Regions from separate parts of the Homo sapiens genome. Here region 2 is linked to region 1. Evidence: promoter capture Hi-C in 16 types of primary human blood cells and fetal thymus (Javierre and others, 2016). All regions are on one chromosome and are shown on one strand. Each heading gives the region's core, a stretch centred on a gene start or on the middle of the fragment in contact. The rest is flanking DNA. Distances are from core to core; before and after follow the strand shown. Region 1 holds the start of DCHS1 (dachsous cadherin-related 1). Region 2 overlaps RRP8 (ribosomal RNA processing 8).

The links. The method cuts DNA at HindIII sites, captures the fragments that hold promoters and counts their contacts. A CHiCAGO score of 5 or more calls a contact.
Region 2: a fragment that was not itself captured here is called in contact with the fragment with the promoter of DCHS1 in region 1 in 4 of 17 cell types (non-activated CD4 T cells, activated CD4 T cells, total CD8 T cells and 1 more); the score reaches 7.6 in non-activated CD4 T cells.

The regions. Positions count from the first base shown.
Region 1 is chr11:6,652,604-6,657,360 of GRCh38, reverse strand. DCHS1 (dachsous cadherin-related 1) reads left to right here and starts at 1,552. Exons shown (of 21, transcript NM_003737.4): 1 at 1,552-1,798. The HindIII fragment of the contact is 4,247 bases long and covers 69-4,315 here.
Region 2 is chr11:6,595,469-6,600,225 of GRCh38, reverse strand. It overlaps RRP8 (ribosomal RNA processing 8), which reads left to right. Exons shown (of 7, transcript NM_015324.4): 7 at 1-4,757. The coding sequence ends at 80. Among named protein-coding and RNA genes, the nearest start is that of RRP8, 5.8 kb to the left of the region's middle. RefSeq lists a silencer at 1,353-1,647. The HindIII fragment of the contact is 4,041 bases long and covers 1-3,915 here.

The DNA of each region.
Region 1 (4,757 bases), core at 303-2,802:
ACTCCCTCTTTCCTGAGGGATGATTTTGGAAAAACAAAAAAGCAAAAACTTCACCCTATATTCAAGCTTATACGGCATTTGCAGATGACTCCCAAATATTTATGTCCATCCCAGACCGCTCCTCTAAGTTGCAGACCTACCTACCCAACCAGCACTTCAAAGTCAGCAGCCCCAAGTCACAGTCATCATCTCCTCATACGAACCCCCTGCAGCCTCCTGCTGCTCCTTTTGTGGAGCACAGCCAGCCTCACCACCATCCATCCACCCAGCTGCCCAAGCGCCGTGGATATGATCAAGGACCCCAGTCTCTCCCTCACTCCTCTTCCAAAATCACACTCCCTTCTTCTTCAGCTGAAACTGTGTTCCTTCTCCACAGAAGTTCCTGATTTCTTTGTGCCATTTGTACACATCTCAAGTCCAGAAAACCTGTTTTTCTCACAGTCTACTCGCAGTCCTAAGGAAGAAGGACAGGAGTCAGAACTCTTCCCAGTTCCTTTAAGATTGCTTGCTCTTTGTCTCTGTCTGATTTCCCCTCTCCCCATATTCTCTCCCAAGTTGGTTTTTTGAGCCCCTTCCCACTTCCCTGCCCGGTTTCCTCCTCACTTAATTTTTCTAGGGAGTATATCGTGAGTGGGACCACCATCCCCAAAGCTCTTCTTTCCAATATCTCCCGATCTCTACCCTCAAATTTGGGATAAAGAGAAAGTGGGGGAAAGGGAGCCTGGGGGTGAAGGAGAGAAAAGAGACAGAAATCATGGGATAATGAAAAGTGACTAACAGGGGAGAAGGCCGAGGTTACGATGGAAGAAGGGGAAGAGACAGCGGGTAGTGAAAAGGGCAGGGGTGAGAAAAGGGAATGAGGAGAAGGCGTGAGGAAAAGGGGATGATGAGGTGAGGCGAAAGACACAGGGAGAAGGGGATGGGGAGAAAGGTGGGGAGAAGAGACGGGGAGAAAGGGATAGGAAGAAAAGGATAAAAGGAGAGGTGGGGAAGGAGAATCTGATGTAAAGAGGCTGGAGAGAGATCAAGCAGAAGGGGTAAGGAGAAGAGAAAGGGGAGAAGAGCTGGGGAGAAAATGATGGAGATGGGGCGAGAAGAAGAGGATGGGAGAAAGGCAGAGGGGAATGGAGATGACGGTTGGGAAAAAGAAGGGGCGAGAGGGAGACCAGGGCACTGAGGGAGAAGAGGGGAATAGGGGATGGAAAGAAGATGGAAGAGGAGGAGGTGAGCAGCAGGGAGCGGCGAGAAGGGGAAGAGACGAGAGGGCGTAGAGAACCGAATGGGAGGAGAGGACGGGAGAAGTGACGGGGAGAAGGGAAGGGAACCGGGACGGGGGCGCGGCGCGGCGCTGGGGCCGGATCCGGAGCCGGGGCCTGGGGCCGGGAAGTGGAGGGGCGGAGGGAGGCCGGGCGGGCGCCGGGGGGAAGGGGGGGCGGCGGCGCGGAGCGCGGGTGGGGGCGGGGGCGGGGGCTCCGCGGGCGGAGGGGCGGGGGCTCGGGTTACCGCGCGGAGGGCGGGGGGAGGGGAGGGGAGGGGGCGCGGGGCCGCGGCAGCGGAGCTCGCATCCTCGGCGGGGCGGCTGTGCAGGAGGCGGCGCCCGGGCGTCAGCGGACGGACCGATCGACGGCCAAGGGCGCGCGGACCGACGGCGGCTGCCCGGAGGGGATCGCGGGCCTCGGAGACAGCGACTGCGGACGATGCGCGGCCTCAGGCCCCGCGCGAGCGGGCGCTGCCCGGGGGGCTGACCGCGGCCGGACGGCGCCCCAGCACCGGGCGAGGGAGCCCGCGTCGCGCGGAGGTCAGTGCCCGCGCCCGCCCGGCCCGTCTGGCCGCGCCCGCCCTGCCCGCCGGCCTCCCCTGGGCTGCGGCAGCGGCGGCGGAGCCGGGGGCTTTGTTCTGAGCCGGAGACAATGGGGGAGGGGGGGCCTGGGCCTGCGGGACCCGGGCGGGCGTGAACGTGAGCGTGGGGGCAGGGCCTGGGGGTCTTTGTGTGCGTGTGTCATCGAGTCGGGGAGGGTGGCGGCGGGAGCGTGCGCCGGGGGTGTGGGGTGCGACAGCGTTGTGTTCCAGTGCATCGTCGGAGTGTGTCAGTGCGTGTCACTGGGAGGTTGTGTGTCCCTGGGCGTCTCTCTGGCTGTGTGTGCATGTGCGTGTCACTCTGAGGGTGTGAGGGTCAGAATGACCGTGTGTCATGGTGAGCGAGTCCCTGTGAGGGTGTGTTGCCCGCTCTGTGGGAGCCCATGTGTCAGAATGTGGAGGATGGGTGTGTGACAGAGACCAACTGAGACAGAGACAAAGAAACTGAGTGGGGAGAAGTACAGAGAAGCAGAGGAGAGGCAGGCACAGCCTGAAGTGGATGGAGGGGGGGGTCACCCAGACGTGTTCTGAGTGGGAGATTGGAGCAACTGGGAGTTTGTGTCTGGGATACCCAGCTCAGAATCCCGTGCAGGGGACAGAGCAAGGTCACCGCAGGCGTGGGTCCCACGTGGAGGGGGTGGGGAGAGGGAGGTCTAGAAGCACAATGAACTCAGTGTGGCGGGCTGGGCCCACAGCCACAAGGTCATAGGCCAGAAAAATATTGTCGCTTATGTCAACTTCTCAAATACCCATAGGGACACAGTCATAGCCCTACTCAACCCACAAGAGGACACAGTCCCAGGGAACACACATCCTCAAGAGATACCCTCACAGCCATCATACACTTCCAGGAAGCCCACCCCCAGGAAGCACCCCCAGTCAGAACCAACACACACCTACAGCAGACTCTATCAAGCCAACACACACCTACGGAAAATGCTCTCATGACAACACACACCCACAGGAGAAATGCTGCAACCAACATACTCCCACCGGTTCATTGTCAAGGCCAACACATACCATGGAAGACATTGTTACTGCTAACACTCTCCAGAAACACTGTCACCAGCAACAAACAAGTAGACCAGCACCTCTCAGGAGACATTGTCACTGCAATCCACATCCATCAGAAGCACTGTCACAACTGTCACAGCACATCTTATTAGGTTTACTTCCTTGGAGCTGCCCATACATAGTGGGTGTCCTAGAAGCCTGTCACTAACAGGAGGCTGTGCCACAGTTGCCCTTACCACACAGCCACTTGTACAACCCCCAGGAGACAGTCATGGATGGCATGCACACCACAGGAAGACCTGTCCCAACTTCTGAATAAACTCTGCTTAACTTATCAAGCTCACACCTTCACCCCTTCTCATACGTAGATCTCCCAGGTATACCCTCTTGTTCCCTGAAAACTTCGAGATCTGGATAGTGTATCCTGCCATGGTTTCTCAGTGTCCTTCAACACCACAGCTTCACAGATTCTTGACCTCCTTAGCTCCTGTTACCTTCCTCCCTCCCAGGACCACTCTGTAGAACTATTCCACCTTTAAAATTCTAAACTCTTGCATTCCTCTCTCTACCCACAACCTCCTATATCCTTCCAGCTTTCAGATGTTCTCGCTCCCATTACACTCTTTGACCTCATAATGACCTCTTGCCCTTGACCTCTTTGTTTTCTCCTACTCTGTTCCTTTCTGACTTTGTGCTTTCTTTCCAGCTCATATGCTAAGGATCATCCCTTCAACCACTCCTTGGCCACTGTGTTTCCTTGTCTTCTATACTCATCCCTCAAATTATTGCCCCTAACTAGAATGATTTCTCAACCACACCAGGGGACGCTTCTATAAATTCATACTTCTAAAAAATTCAAACCTCAACTGGGCCCTTCATAAATAAATAGATGATTTTTTTTCTATTTTCTTCACACTCATTACCCCACATCCCTCACACCATTGTTTTCAGTAGATTAATTAATCAAAACGCTAATTCATTCATTTAACAAACACATACTAGGCACCTACTCTGCTAGGCATTGTGATGAGAGTTGGCAGCACAAGTGTGAACAAAATGGACATGGTCCTTATCCTCATGGAGCTTACAGGCTGTGGAGTGAGTGTTGTAACACAGCAGCACACAGCAGAGTAACCTAGGCCAGTGTAGGGAGGTCAGAAGAGTCTTTCTGGAGGAAGTGGCATTTAAACTTAAACTTGATGGAGTGGGTGGAGAATATGCCAAGCCAAGGGAGCAGCATGTAAAAGCCCACATGAAGGAAAATAGTGTGTGTGTGAGGGATAAAGCAGTTCAGTGAGCCTGACACTTACAGCATGAGGTGACGAGAGAGGGAGAGTCTGTGGGAGAGGTAAATGGAGGCTTAGACCATGCAGGGTCTAGGAGGCCACAGAAAGAAATTCATTTAACCCAAGAATAATGGAGAGTCACCAAATCATTGGAAGCTTGGAGCGATATGATCAGATTCATTTTAGAAATACCACTCTGACAGCCATGTGGAGACTGGAGAAAGAGCCTGAGAAGAAGGACAGTTGGCTGTTGCAGAAACTCTGGAGGGTATAACACTGGCCTGAACTGGAGTAGTGGCCGGAGAGAAGGAGAAAGTGGATGGTTTCAAGAGCTCTTTAGGCAGTGGGATCAGCAGGGCTCAGTGACAAAGCAGACATGGTGGGGTGAAGGAAAGGAAGGAATTAAGAGTGGACAACCTGGTCTTCTGGCTCACTGAGGAAATTGAGGCCATCTGTTTTGAATTCCCTCAGATTTCTGCCTCCTCCCTCAAATTTTATCTGCATCCTCTTCAATCTTTTCTCCTTCCTTCCTATAAGAACGAAGTGCTGTCTCTTCTACTTAAGGCCAATCCTCTACCTGTGTTACGGATCCCATCCCCT
Region 2 (4,757 bases), core at 646-3,145, 57 kb after region 1:
AGACTGGGCCCCCTCTGGTAGGGCCCAAGGCTCAGCTTTCAGGCCTGCAGCTTCAGCCATGTCTCTACAAGCGCAGGTGACCTCTGGATCTTCCTTGAAAGGGGAGGCAGATCTCAAACTCCAGGCTCAGAACTGTGAAGACTGTTTCCAGCCTGGCTGTGAGCCAAGACCTGGTTCCTGGTGGACCCTGAGGACAAAGTGTGATAAAACCTCTGGCTCAGACTTGCTCTACTGAAGGCTTCTTGGTTATAAGATGCATAAAGTCACTGGGGCTAGCTAAACAATAAAGAGTTTATTGTGAGAACATGGGGATATCTGTCTCATGACACTTCAGGTGTTATGAAAACTAGATGGTTTGGAATTCAAGGCATCTTTAGGTTTTGCTCTTCTTTCCAACTAAGAAGCCACATGGCCTTCCTGTCCTGCCATCTCCACTCTGCTGTCATCTGATCTGTCTACAGATCAGCTTCCTCTGCTCACCCATAGCTTCTGCTCCTTCAGCTTCAGTTTGCCCAGGCCTTCAAGGTTGCAGACAGGCAGCTGTTGCTGTTTGACTCTGAGGCAACTGGTTGTCCACCAACATCTTGGCTCAAGACATCAGTCTGAGCCACCAACTTGAGACTGTTTGGTTGTCCCCATACCGAGCATTTCTAGTGGTTTATCTTTCCCCTCTCCCCTCATCTCCATTTTTGGAACCATATAGCATCAAGCCACTCCCAACACCTATTGTCCTGTGGGACTTTGGGATGTATATAGCTGAGAGCACAGATTTTGGAATCAGGTAGACCTGGATTTAATTCTTGGCCTGCTACCCAGAGGCACTTAAAGTCATTTAATCTCTGTATATCACATTCCTCATTTGGAAAATGGTAGAATTTTTGTCTTGCAGGGTGGTTGTGTGGGTTAACTGGAGAAATCTGTAGCCAGGGCTGGGAACATAGGAGGTGCTCAGTAAACTAGCTATGACTATTATGTGTTGTAAGCCTTATTGTTTTTTGAAGATCTTCCCTAGGCTGGTTGGAGGCTGAGGGGTAAAGAATGGATTTGTTGACTAAGGAAGCCTCTGGGAGAGGCTAGACCTTTCAACAGGCCTGCTTCATAGGCTATTTAATGACTTTTAATAGATTCTGAGCTTCTGTCCTTGGAGGGGTAGTGAGGGAGCTGGGTCTCTGTTCATAAACAACTTGTTGATGCCATGTGGGCTTGGGGGCATTGGGCTGTTCATTGGCGGAAGAGTCTGTCCACTATCTCTGCCTTGCAGTGGACTCAGATCAGCATGTCCTGGGAAAGCTATAGGCAAGGTGCTGAGGGAAGGTGAGTTTGAATGATAGATTCTAGGCCTCCCCCAAAAGGTATCTGCCATGTGCCCAGGTATAAAGATATGGCCTCTTGTACTTGTTTCCAGGAATACCTGACAGTACCCATTGGGAGATCATAGGTTCTATGCCCTGAGCCAGTTGGATGCCTCTAATAAGGGGATGGAGGTTTTGAAACAGGCTGTAGTCCAGAGGGCATGTTTGGAGGCTGGGCTGTGAATCATTAGGCAGGCACTACACAGTGCCTCTACACGTACTGTTCTTTCTGCTGGATATTCATCGGACTGGCAGTTTGCTCATCTTTCCGAACAGCCTAGTTGTTTCCTATTCTACTCCCAAAGCAAAATCAGTTCTTCATCTGTACTCTCAAAGTACTATGTGAAGAGTGCTACTTCAGCTTCTAAATATTGCATTGTGATTCCTTTGTGCATTTGGCTGCTGTTTTCTCAAGCCATGTTTATCTTTGTATTCCCGGAGCTTGTCATTTGAGATATAGCCAGTGTACTTATTCACCTAGGGAGAGATAAGGAATGACAGGGTCCAGTTGAGTGGGATAGATGAGAACAGGGGTGTTATAGAAACCCAGGTACTAGGGCACAAGATGAGGGCACTGTTGACTAGTCATGATGGAAGAAGTAGGCAGACAGGAGAACTTCATTAGGTAGAATTGGTGGGATGTTGAGGTTGGTAAGAGAGGAATCTGAAGTAAGTTCCAGGTTGCTCAACTGTGGGTAGGCTGGTGATGCCATTCAAAGTGTTGGATTTTAGGAAGTGGGACATGCGTGAAATCTGTGCTGGGGGTCTGGGAATCAGCAGCCTAGAGGTGGTAATTAAAGTCAGAATAGATGAGATATTCAGGGTAAGATAATGAGAAGAGAAAATGGCTCAGAATAGAACTGAGGAGCATGTCATGGATGGGTAAAGGAAAATGAAGCAGTGAAGGTGATGGAAGAGGAGAAGGTTCACCCAGAGATGTAGGAGTAAAACCAGGAGAGTTAATTTTTTTTTTTTTTTTTTTTTAAGACAGAGTCTTGCTCTGTGGCCCAGGCTGGAATGCGGTGGCGTGATCTCAGGTCACTGAAACCTCTGCCTGCTGGTTCAAGCACTTCTCCTGCCTCAGACTCCCGAGTAGCTGGGAATACAGGCACATGCCACCACGCCCAGCTAATTTTTGTATTTTTAGTAGTGACGGGGTTTCACCATGTTGGCCAGGCTGGTCTCGAACTCCTGACCTCGAGTGATCGGCCTGCCTCGGCCTCCCAAAGTGCTGGGATTACAGGCATGAGCCACTGTGCCCAGCCAGTGTTTTTTTTTTTTTTTTTTTTATGGGAGGATGGGCAGGTTGTTAGCTGTCGAGTGCTATTGAGATGAGAGAGAACTCAGAATGCAGTGGGGTAAGGATTGCTGAGTAATGTGGAGGGCCTGTTTGAGGTAAATGGCAGTGGTAAGAGGTTGCTCCATTATGAAAGCCCTCTTCCAGAGTTCCTGATAGGGCCCCAGAAGTTCATTTCTGATTGCTTTGATTTTTTTTCAGGGGAGCAGGAAGCCAGTTTATCATTTGAGAGTGAGAATAGGGGAGAGGAAATATCTTCCAGGCCCACAGTGCATAGAAATACCCAGTCAGGGCAAAATGATTTATCTGTTTACCTCTCCTCATCACTTGGGCCCAGAGCAATCAGCAGTGATTAGGTAGAGAGGAGCCGAGCAGAGGGAAGAGCATACCAATCACTCCTCCCTTTCCCAGTGCAGGCTCCTAGACTTAGCTGGGGCAGAGCTGGGAGAGGAAAAAGGGATTTAAAACTGCAACAGGTGCAGATTATTGTTACACAGGATTAGACATTCTAATTAATTGAGATTATGTTTGTTCCTTAAACTGATCACAGGACTATCTATTAAGAACATCACAACCTCGCTGCAGCTTTTCTCCATAGCAGGGAGAGTACCTCCCAGTGAATAAAATTTGGAGGGTGGTAAGAGACAAGAATAAAATTGGGTTTGGTTATCCGTGCCTCATGCTTGTTCAGCATCCCTTTGAGAGTTCTCCAAATAAATAGTTACTGCTTCTGCAGTTATTGGTGTGCTCCAGCTTCTGTTCCCATAATATAGTCCAGTCCTAAGGGAACACAGTTCTAAAAGAAACAACATGATCTTGGCAGAGACACCGCTCAGCTCCAAACCCAACCATTTATGTAACTGCACAAAACTCTCTACAGCTTTTCACAGAGACCAGTAATTAGAACCTTTCATCCCCTGGTCATCCTCCTTCCCAGGTGAATTCTCTGACCAGCCATCTGGTTTTAGGATACCCAACTCCTGCAGTAACTGCCTTACTGGTGGTCTAATTGCTTCTACTCGTGTCCCTAAAGCAATTAATTTTCCACACAGCCATGTGATCTTTTTAAAATGTAAATCAGCTTATGTCACTTCTCTGCTTAAAATCCTTCAATGGATTCTCACTGCCTCGAGAACAAAAGACAAACTTTTCAGGCCCCGTGTGATCTTGCCCAGGCCTCCGTCACCATCACCATCTGCATCTTAACCCACTCCTCCCCTTTCACAAAACTCCAGCCACACAGACTTGCTTTTTATTCCTCAAGCTTTCCAAACTGTTTCTACTGAGAGTCTTTGCACATGCTCCATCTTCCTTGAATACTCTTTCCCCAGTGAGCTCATTTTCATCTTCCTGAATTCATACCACTATTACCTTTGCTTCTGTGGAAGAAACTGGCCAGATGCTCACCCAAATGTCCTCTTTCTGGACACAGGTAAACTGCATTTCCCAGCTCCATGCATCTAGGCCTATGTGAGTAGTTCTCAACAGTGGAAAATGAGTGGAAGTGATGTTTCAATACTAGACCAAGGCAGTTAAAGGGTGGCTGAGCCATTTCCATTATTCTCTTCCTCCTTCCTCTTCAAGGTAACCTTGAAGCACATGTTTTGACGGTGATGGAGTCATAGCATAGAAGAAGTCTGAATACCTGAGTTACTATTTAGGGCATAATAGCTACTTGACCAAAAACATCCATATTGGACTTTGAACAAGAAAATAAACTTGATTACATTCTGCTAGTGAGTTTTGAGGGTGTTTTAGCAGTTATCATTATATACACTGGATATATCTTCTATGGTATCCTGTCCACCTTACTCTTGACCACAGTACCCTCTTTGTTTCCTTCAGGGTGTTTCAGATATTTAATTATCTTGCCAGATGCCAGTCAACACTTTCTTTTTGTCCCATGAGTTTAAAATCAGGGGAAAACATGTACTCCCAATAGGAAGTTGAGATACTCTTTTTTTTTTAAATCCGTCATTGTGACTGTGACCGGAAAAACAAATCCCACTAAAGAATGTCCTAAACAGATGTTTTTTTTTGTCATATAACCTGGAGTTAGGTGATTTGGCATTGGTTCTGGAGCTGAAGGATGTTAGGGATGAGGTCTC